Linked DNA regions of Homo sapiens: region 2 is linked to region 1. Evidence: promoter capture Hi-C in 16 types of primary human blood cells and fetal thymus (Javierre and others, 2016). All regions are on one chromosome and are shown on one strand. The core of a region is centred on a gene start or on the middle of the fragment in contact, and the rest is flanking DNA. Distances in the headings are between cores, read along the strand shown. Region 1 holds the start of TMEM92 (transmembrane protein 92). Region 2 overlaps COL1A1 (collagen type I alpha 1 chain).

The links. Contacts are between HindIII fragments. The CHiCAGO score rates a contact against its expected background, and 5 or more counts as called.
Region 2: a contact is called between a fragment that was not itself captured here and the fragment with the promoter of TMEM92 in region 1, in 17 of 17 cell types (M1 macrophages, M0 macrophages, megakaryocytes and 14 more). The highest score is 23.3, in M1 macrophages.

The regions. Positions count from the first base shown.
Region 1 is chr17:50,269,740-50,276,745 of GRCh38, forward strand. It overlaps TMEM92 (transmembrane protein 92), which reads left to right and starts at 4,727. Exons shown (of 5, transcript NM_153229.3): 1 at 4,727-4,831. The coding sequence starts at 4,763. LOC124904028 (a long non-coding RNA gene) reads left to right here. Exons shown (of 3, transcript XR_007065846.1): 2 at 1,420-1,497; 3 at 1,627-1,664. RefSeq lists silencers at 3,332-3,671, 4,809-5,103. The HindIII fragment of the contact is 4,587 bases long and covers 184-4,770 here.
Region 2 is chr17:50,194,309-50,196,808 of GRCh38, forward strand. It overlaps COL1A1 (collagen type I alpha 1 chain), which reads right to left. Exons shown (of 51, transcript NM_000088.4): 12 at 2,309-2,362; 13 at 2,176-2,220; 14 at 2,006-2,059; 15 at 1,847-1,891; 16 at 1,615-1,668; 17 at 1,259-1,357; 18 at 1,126-1,170; 19 at 924-1,022; 20 at 739-792; 21 at 413-520; 22 at 265-318; 23 at 41-139. Among named protein-coding and RNA genes, the nearest start is that of COL1A1, 6.1 kb to the right of the region's middle. RefSeq lists an enhancer at 2,033-2,500. The HindIII fragment of the contact is 9,239 bases long and covers 1-2,500 here.

The DNA.
Region 1 (7,006 bases), core at 3,477-5,976:
TGCGGGAGTAGAAAGGGGGAACAAACTGGGAGTGGAGGGAATCACATCTCCAGTCCCAGACCACGTTCAGGAGTGGTCGGCACCTGGACGGACATCCTCTGGGATCTGTCACCAGCCCCACCTTCTCAGGCCTGACTGGCCTTAAGTGGGGCCCAGTGGACAGCAGAGGGGTTTAGTGAGCAAAGCTTCCTGGGGAAACTGGGGTTGGATGCTGCAGCCCATCCAGGGAGGTGAGCAGTCCAAAAGCAGCGAGACCCTGCACTCCTTGGCACCCCACTCTGCCTCCATGTGAAATGCAGAGAAGGAAGTATGGGCCCCTTGTCTCTGCCAGGAATGACAGCTAGCATTTATTTGCCATTACTGTATGCCAGACTCTGAGCGGCCTGTTTCATCCTCATCATGGCCTATATGATGAGGGAGGTACTGTTATCCAACTCCTCCCTCTCCTTCCTGTTGAGAGAGGCCCAGAGAAGTTCCATTTCTCGTCTAAGGTCACACAGCACAACATATTCAGTGGCACACTGACTAACACGACACAATACTGCCCCTACAGGCAGAGCCGGGCTAGAGCAGAGCATTCTGCTGGCTTTGAAAAGAGATCCCAGCCTAGTGCCATCAGCCATTACAGATATTAGTGTCCACCAAAGTATGGGGGTGGGGGGGACTGCCAAGTAAAACAGAATTCACCCTGGCTCTTCCCCTTCACCCAAGCCTGGCCCCCTGGGCTGGGCTGAGCCAGGCTAGGCGAGGCCACCCACCCTGAGTGATCCTCCATCCAGAGCAGTGGAGCAGGGCTCCCCAGGCCCGAGGTGAGTGCCACCTGTGCTGGGTGTGGCGTCTTGAGCGCTGCATGGTTCTGATCCTGACTCAGCCCCTCATGTCCTGTGCGACCTGGCCTTCCCGCTCTCCAGGCCCTGGTTGCCTCCTCTGAGAAGGGCGTAAGTGGGCCGGCTGGCCTCGGAGGCCCCTCCTTCCAGCTGGGCCCCGGCAGGATGCACAATCAGCTCATTCTTTAGTGAATGCACTGGGGGCCCAGCGAGCGTTTATGAAGACATTTCGAAGTGGCTGCTCTTGGGAAACCCCAGATGGAATTTGGTGTTGAATCTAGGGGGCCGCTGACTACATGAGGCCTCTGGGTTTCTGTGCTCGTGTATGCCTGAGCACCTGCACACGCTGCCCTCCTGGTGCTAGGTGACGTGCCAAACAGAAGATGCTGGCCTTGTCCAGGACCCTCCTTCCTCTAGAACAGCCCTTCTCTGCTCAGTCTAGGGGGGTCCATGGTGCTCCCACCCCCTTCTGACCTCACCCACCAAAAATCCGAGGGCCCTGGGGCCATGATGAATGCTAACAGGCCCTGGTGTTCTTGGCCTGGCCTGGGACCACCCACTTCCAGGCTCCTCATCTTGTCCCCATCTGCAGGAAGGAACGTAGGGCAGTTTGGTGTCATGGAACTGGGGGCCCAGCCGAGGGGCTCAAGAGCCCTTCAGACTCTGCCTGGTGAGTCAAGTGCTAAGGACCTCACTTCTTCATTGGAAGATGTGGGGTGGGGGTGGAGTTTGTTCCTAGGACATTGTAGCGATGTGGATAGCATTGCCAGATTTTGTTTTGTTTTGTTTTTCTTTTTAGAGCGAGGGTGGTGCTCTGTCACCCAGGCTGGAGTGTAGTGGTGTGATCTCAGCTCACTGCAGCCTTGAACTCCTAGGCTCAAGTGATCCTCCTACCTCAACCTCCAGAGTAACTGGGACTACAGGTACATGCCACCACACCGGCTTAATTGCTTTTGTTTTCTTTGTTTGCAGAGACAGGGTCTTGCTATGTTGCCCAGGCTGGTCTCAAACTCCTGGGCTCAAGTGATCTTCCTACCTCGGCCTCTCCAAGTGCTGGGGTTATAAGCGTGAGCCACTGTGCCTGGCCTGGTTGCCAGTTTTAACAAAGAAAAACACAGAACATCCCATTAAATGTGAATTTCAGATAGAAAAGTAAATTTTAGCATAAGTATGTCTCAAATATTGCATGGGCCCAGGTGTAGTAGCTCACGCCTGTAATCCCAACACTTTGGGAGGCCAAGGTGGGCATATCACTTGAGGCCAGGAGTTGGAGACCAGCCTGGCCAACAAGGTAAAACCCTGTCTCTACTAAAAATACAAAAAATTAGCTGGACATAGTGGCACATGCCTGTAATCCCAGCTACTTGGGAGGCTGAAGCATGAGAATTGCTTGAATCTGGGAGGTGGAGGTTGCAGTGAGCTCACACCACTCCATTCCAGTCTTGGTTCTCAAAAAATATATATATATTGCATGGGACATAATTATACTAAAATGAAATTATTCATCGTTTATCTGAAATTTGGATTTACCTGGGCCTCCTGTCTTTTGTCCGGCAACCCTAGATCTGGGTCAGGTTGATGCCAGAGACCCAGAGAGCAGCTATGCCAGCCTCCTCCCCCTCCTCCTGCCCCTCTTCAGGGCACTGGTGCCCGCCTAGTTCCCTCACCCCCACTCCTGCTGACCCCCCACATCTGTCCCTTGAGTTCCCACATGCCCTTCTCAGCACCCTCATTTCACCCCGCAGGGTATCTTCCTCCTCTAAGCTCAACCATTTTCCCATTTTCCTCTCCCGTAAGGGCCACACCTCTGTAGGGCTCCCAGCCTGGGCAGGATAGCAGGGAGTGTGGGGTAGAGACCCCAGGCCTTGCTGTTGCAGTGGGGCCTGGGTGGGGACAAGAAGAACCCTGGCAGCCCAAGTTGGCAACGACTCAAGAGGTGGAGGCTCCAGCACTCTCAGGACGAGGTCCCCCTGCCAAGGTCCACCTGCAGGGGAGGAGGGGAGACGGCGGCCCCTTCCCTTCTCCAAGCTCACAGTCACTTCAAATACAGAGGGGCCAGATCCCAATACCCCTCGGATCAGGAGACTAGAAGATTATCTTCTTAAGGGGCAAAAAGGGCTAGGAGGTAATGGGAAATAGAGACAGGGAAAGGGAGAGAGAGAGCAGGGAGACAGCATAAGAAACAGACCGAGAGACTGGGGGTGCAGGACCAAACCAGGGACAAGGAGAAGGGACCAGAGAAACCGAGAAAAACAGACGCCTCCGCCGAGGCAGACAGAGGTGAACAGAGAGAGGAGAAACAGACGGGAGAACAGAGGGAAAGGCTGGGAACTCGAGAGAAACTGGGTGCGGACAGATGGGAAGAAACCGAAACAGAAAAACAGAGGCTGGGAGAAACGGGGAGAGACACAGAGGGGTTAAATATAAGACAGAGAACATGACTGGGAGAGATGAGGGAGAAGGGTGAGAGGCAGAGAGCAAGGAAAGAGAAGAAACGCCCACGACGTCGGGGGTGTTTTTCAGGGGTCAAGACAGATTGGCGACACAGCAGGAGGCGCCCAAGGACATGACGTTGAGCCTCTCAGGGTCCCCCTTGGCCGGGCCAGGGAGCAGCGCCCCACGCTCCATCACCCCCTCTCCCCCTCCCGCGGTCCTGGCTGCACTGCTCCTGCCTCGCCCTCGCCCAGCGCCCCCAGCCCACAAGCCCCGGCCGCGCCCCTCCCGGCTCCCGGGGGCACCCGCGCTGGGCGACGCTGCCACCTGCCGGCCGCTCCCGGAAGCTCCGCGCCTGGAGTGCTGGAGGCGGCGGCCGCAGGGGGCTCAGAATCAGGCCCCTCCGCACTGGGGCGGCCTCCGCGGGGTCTTTCCAGGAATCTGGATGGGCCTGCTCGCCCGCGCCCCGGCGGGCCTGGCAGAGGACCAGCCCCAGCTGCGGACCCCGGGGCAGTCTAAACCCTGGGGCCTTGAGTTCCCGTTTTGTCAATGGGAGAAAATGCACCAACACCTCCTGTAGGATTTCAAGAGGGGAGGGGACACGAAGGTACCCACGTTGTGCTCCTGGTCTTCCTTCCTCGACCTGGAAATCTCAGGGCACTCTGAAATCAGCCAGGCTGCTCTGTCCCTCCCTTTTTGGTCAAAACACAATGGGGTGATATCCCCCAACCATAACCCCTCAAAATCTACCCTAGAACCTTCGCCTTCCCCTCCCTCAACCTCTGCCCCCATTTGACTTCTCACCAGACCCAGAGGTCCAGATAAGAAGGGGCTTCCACGTCCCCTTCCCACTCCCGCCGGTCCCGGCACCCCTCCCTGGAGTCTGGGGCACTTAGGAGTGGAGGAGTTGGGAGTTAGGAAGGCCCAGCTCAGCGGTGTGGAGTTGATCCCACCTCTTTTTAAATTTAGGTTATTTATTTATTTATTTATTTATTTAGAGATGGAGTCTCACTCCGTCGCCCAGGCTGGAGTGCACTGGCACGATCTCGGCTCACTGCAACCTCTGCTTCCCGGGTTCAAGCGATTCTCCTGCCTCAGGCTCCTGAGTAGTTGGGATTACAGGCACCCGCCACCACGCCCGGCTAAATTTTGTATTTCTAGTGGAGACGGGGGGTCTCACCATGTAGGCCAAGCTGGTCTCGAACTCCTGACCTGAAGTGATCCTCCCAAAGTGCTGGTATTACAGGCGTGAGCCACCGCGCCCGGGACCGCTTTTTTAAAAATCCGTTAATCTCTTCTACCTCCCAAATCCCAAAACCCAACCCAGACCTCTGCGCCTCCCTTCCTCCCTTCCTCCTCCCAGCCCCTCCCTGCCCCGAGTCCGCCTCTCCCGGTGCAGCTCCGCCCCCATCCCGAGGCGGGGCCCCATAGGTGGAGAGAAGTGGGAGAGGTCGCAGCCCCGCCTTCTCTACACAGGAAAGCTCAGTGGCCCCCAAGCCAGGATGTCCCAAGCTTGGGTCCCCGGCCTCGCGCCCACCTTGCTGTTCAGCCTGCTGGCTGGCCCCCAAAAGGTGAGACTGGGAGGTAAGGTTGTTGAACTTTTGGGCCCTACCCTTGTAGGTCAGGAGCCTGCTTCTGGAGCCTGGTCGCCACCTTCCAGAATCAGGATTTCCTCCTGACCACACACAGTTAGCTACTTCCTTTCTCTCTTTGCTGTGGAGGTGGAGGTGGGGGCAGCGGAGGAGGCTCTGGGAGAGGCTGGGTTCTCCCACCTCTGAGGGGGATCCTGTGGTGGGAAGTGGCCACCACCCACCACCTTATCTGACACCTAGCACGTCTCTGTGAATAGGGACTTTGGACCCCTTATTAGCCTCAGCTTATCCTTCCAGCTCCTTCCCGCCTGAGCTTTGGACACCTGGGCCAGCACTTAGCCCCAGCTCAGTTCCTCCAGTGCTGGGGGACCCTGGGATGTCCCCACCCTCTTTGGGACTGTGTCTCTGCTTGTTCCCTAGGGGAGAGAAGGCTCTTTTGTCCCCTTCTAGGGGTAAGTAATCCCAGCCTGTGGTGGGATTTGACCTGGCTGCCTGACCAAGGCTGGGGTGACCTCTGAAATCTGTGATTTTGAGAGGGAGGTGTAGGGTTCGAGTGTTCCCTCCGCCCTTCTGTTCCTCCCAAGTAAACTCTACAGGTGATGGGGGAAAGCTGTCCGGTCCTGGGATGGGTGTTTATCCTGGGAACAGAGACGGGTCTAGAACATGCATTTGTGTCTTATTTCCATTTAAGAACCGGAGGGAAGTCAGGGTCTTCCATAGTTAGGATTTTAGAACAGGGCACCTTCACACATCTGGGCTGAGCTTTCAGAGAGGCTCTGCCAAAACCCTTCCGTGGACCCGGGTTAGTGAGCAAGGTGTTCCTTCTAAATCACTGGGCGGTCAGTTTGTGTCAATGCTGGGCTGGGCATCCTCTGGTTTACCCCTCCCACCAACCCCAGGGGCGAGGTGCTGTTAATACCTTCAATTCTGGAGTTAAGTAAGCTGAGATTTACTTACTCCCAGCCCAAGACCACCCTGACGCTCCATAAAACTCAGCCTCTGAACCACCCCAGACAAGACTACCCCCTGGTTAAAATGTGGGGAGACAATCTGGGAGAAGAGCTCCTCCCCCTCCCAAACCGGAACTTGAGATTAATTTACTAAACCTGTTAATTATCCATTACTTATTAGCTGGGGTCCAGGAAAAGGACAAGGGCCAGAGTGGGGTCTGAGGGGGAAGGGGTGCTGTTGAGTGCCTGGATGGACCCCTCGATTTGTCTCCAAGTTCCCTCTCTGTATATATATATTTTTAATTTAAAGAATAGAGGCCAGGCGCAGTGGCTCACGCCTGTAATCCCAGCACTTTGAGAGGCCGAGGCAGGCAGATCGTGAGGTCAGGAGTTTCAGACCAGCCTGACCAACAACCCCATCTCTACTAACAATACAAAAATTAGCCAGGCATGGTGGCACGTGCCTGTAATCCCAGCTACTTGGGAGGCTGAGGCAGGAGTATCACTTGAACCTGGGAGGCGGAGGTTGCAGTGAGCCGAGATCGCACCACTGCACTCCAGCCTGGGCAACAGAGCTAGACTCCATCTCCAAAAAGAAAAAAAAAGAAAAAAGAAAAAAGAATAGAGACAGGGTCTCGCTATGTTGGCCAGGTTGGTCTTAAACTCCCGGCCTCAAGCAATCCACCCACCTCAGCCTCCCAAGGTATTTAGGATTACAGGGATGAGGCACCGCACCCAGCCTGTCTCCAATTCTATAGTCATTCCTGTGTGCTGTGTGATTTGGATTCACAGACTCACCCTTTCTGGGCCAACCTGCAGGGGTTCCTTCCTGTTCCTGTCCCCACAAGGGGACAAAGCCTGTGAGATGGTACTCAGCCTGGGACTGAGCGTGGAAAAGGGGAATTACCCCAACTCTTATTGGCTATCACTGGTATTCTTATCTTTACTGTTGTGATTTGCAATTGAAATATTTTATAAAGGTATAAAGATAAAGATAACGGTGGTTTTGCCAAAGCTGGCTTCCTATTTTTTAGCCTTGGTTGTTTGTCCCAGGAGGCTAGGGTGGGGTGAGAGATGCCCTTCCCCACCACCCATTTCCTATGTTCTGGCACCTACATCCCTCCCCCACAGTCTGGGAGCAGCCAGGATGAAATGAAACTAGGTAATTGATGAATGCACGTTCATTCATTCTGCAAATATTTTG
Region 2 (2,500 bases), core at 1-2,500, 79 kb before region 1:
CAGGGCCTGGCCAAGCCAGGCTGAAAGCCTGGGGCCTCACCTTGGCACCAGGCAGACCAGCTTCACCGGGACGACCAGCTTCACCAGGAGATCCTTTGGGGCCAGCAGGGCCAGGAGAACCACGTTCACCAGCGGGACCCTGGTTGGGGGAAGTCACAGGAACAGTTAGGGTCTCAAGTTTGTGGCTCTTTGCCACGGGCCAAAAGAGGAAGAAGATGCCCAGGGAGCGGCAGGGTCAGCCCCCCGGCCGCAAGGAGAGGTTACCTTGGGACCAGCAACACCATCTGCGCCAGGGAAACCACGGCTACCAGGTCCACCCTGCAGGAGGAGAGGAGGCCAGTGAACTCCGCGACACACAGGCACCAGCCAGGCAATGAGGGTGGAGCGGGAGGGGGCGGGCAGGGACACTTACACGCTCGCCAGGGGGTCCGGGCAGGCCAGTGGGTCCGGGTTCACCTCGAGCTCCTCGCTTTCCTTCCTCTCCAGCAGGGCCAGGGGGTCCTTGAACACCAACAGGGCCCTGGAGAGGGCCGAGAGGAGGAGGCGGCCTGTGGTGAGGGGCCATCCTGTGCCAGCCTCAGAGCCGGCTGAGGCTGGGCCTCCAGTGTCAGGGGTTCCTGGGGGTGTGGCAGGGACTCCCCCAGAAGACTAGGGGCTCCTCTTCCTTTCTGGATTTCCCTCAGGGGGCTCCTAGGGCAGGGTGGGCTGGGCTGCAAGAAGGATGGCGGGGAGACTTACAGGCTCTCCCTTAGCACCAGTGTCTCCTTTGCTGCCAGGAGCACCAGGTTCACCCTGCAAGGGGGGAGAAGAGGATGAGCTGAGAGTCGGGGGCGCTCAGTTGGCCTGCGTCTTCCTGCTCCCCAGATGAGAGCCGCACTGGAGCCAGTGCATGGGGTGGGCAGAAGGGAGAGTTTGGTACTCACGCTGTTACCCTTGGGACCAGGAGGGCCGCCGGGGCCCTGGGGTCCAGAGGGGCCTCGGGCACCAGGGAAGCCAGGAGCACCAGCAATACCAGGAGCACCCTGTGGGAGGCAGACAGCCAGGGCGTGAGCCTAGGAGCAGAGGGAAAGGGGCAGGCAGGCTGCAGGCGGCAGGAGTGGGACTGAAGCCTGGCAGGATACTTACATTGGCACCTTTAGCACCAGGCTGTCCATCAGCACCAGGGTTTCCCTGTGGCACAGAGAAAGGAGTGTCAGCAACAGGCAAGGACTCTGAGGTTAGAAAGTGGCAAAGGGGACACTGAGTCGGGGACACTTACAGCAGGGCCAGCAGCACCAGCAGGGCCAGGGGGGCCAGGCTCACCACGCACACCCTGGGGACCTTCAGAGCCTCGGGGCCCTTGGGGACCAGCTTCACCCTGAATCAGAAGAAAGGACATATCAGAAGCCACCCTGGGAAACCCAACCTTGCCTCTCGGGATGGCAGGAGGAAGGGGAGACAGGGACAGGAGAGCAATGATCAGGACTCTAAGATCAGAGACGGAGAACCCAGGACAAAGGTGTTAGTGAACGGGCTGCTCTCTTGCCACTCTGGGTCCCTTTGGTTTGGGGAACAGGGAGACATGAACCCCTTGGCCCATGAGGGTCATGCTTAGAGGAGAGTGGGGGGTCTCACCTTAGCACCAACAGCACCAGGGAAGCCAGGAGGACCAGCGGGGCCGGTGGGACCCTGTGAATGAAATGGAGATGTCAGCGAGAAGGAAGAGATGGCAGCTGCAAGTCACACCCTGGGACAGAGGAAGTCCTGGGGTTCAGACCAACATAACCTGCTCCCATTGTCAGCCCCAAGAGCAGATACTGAGACCCCTCCCCACTCCCAGGCCCTGAGGCCTACAGGCCACACTCACAGGGGGCCCGGCAGCACCAGTAGCACCATCATTTCCACGAGCACCCTGCAGGAGAGAGGGGAAGCCCCGTTAAGTCCACTGAGCACTGGCCAGTCCCTAGAGTTCCTGGGGAGCCCCTTCCAGAGCTCAGGGATCCCCCAAGGGGCCAGGAGTACTTACAGCAGGGCCAGGGGCTCCAGGGCGACCTCTCTCACCAGGCAGGCCACGGGGGCCCTGACAACCAAACCAAGAGAAGTCAGATGAGATGGGAGACAGCCTTGTTCCCCCAGGCCTCCATCTTGCCCCTGCCTCCTGCCCCATCCCTGCCCTCTGGAACTGGGCACACTCACCATCTGACCAGGAGCTCCATTTTCACCAGGGCTGCCAGGCTCACCCTGTAGATCAGAGAATAATGAGTGAGAAATTCATTCATGGTGGGACTCTGGGGATGTGGAGGACCATGATGTTCAGACAGCCTCTTACCTTAGGACCAGCAGGACCAGCATCTCCCTTGGCACCATCCAAACCACTGAAACCCTAAAGCAGGAAAGAGGTAGAAGGTAAGAACCTGTGGAGGGGGTGGAACAGCCTTGACATCCACCTAGATCTGAGAAAGAGCCTTGGGAGGTCATCACCGCCATCCCTTTGTTTCTGAGCTAGACTAAACCCCAACTG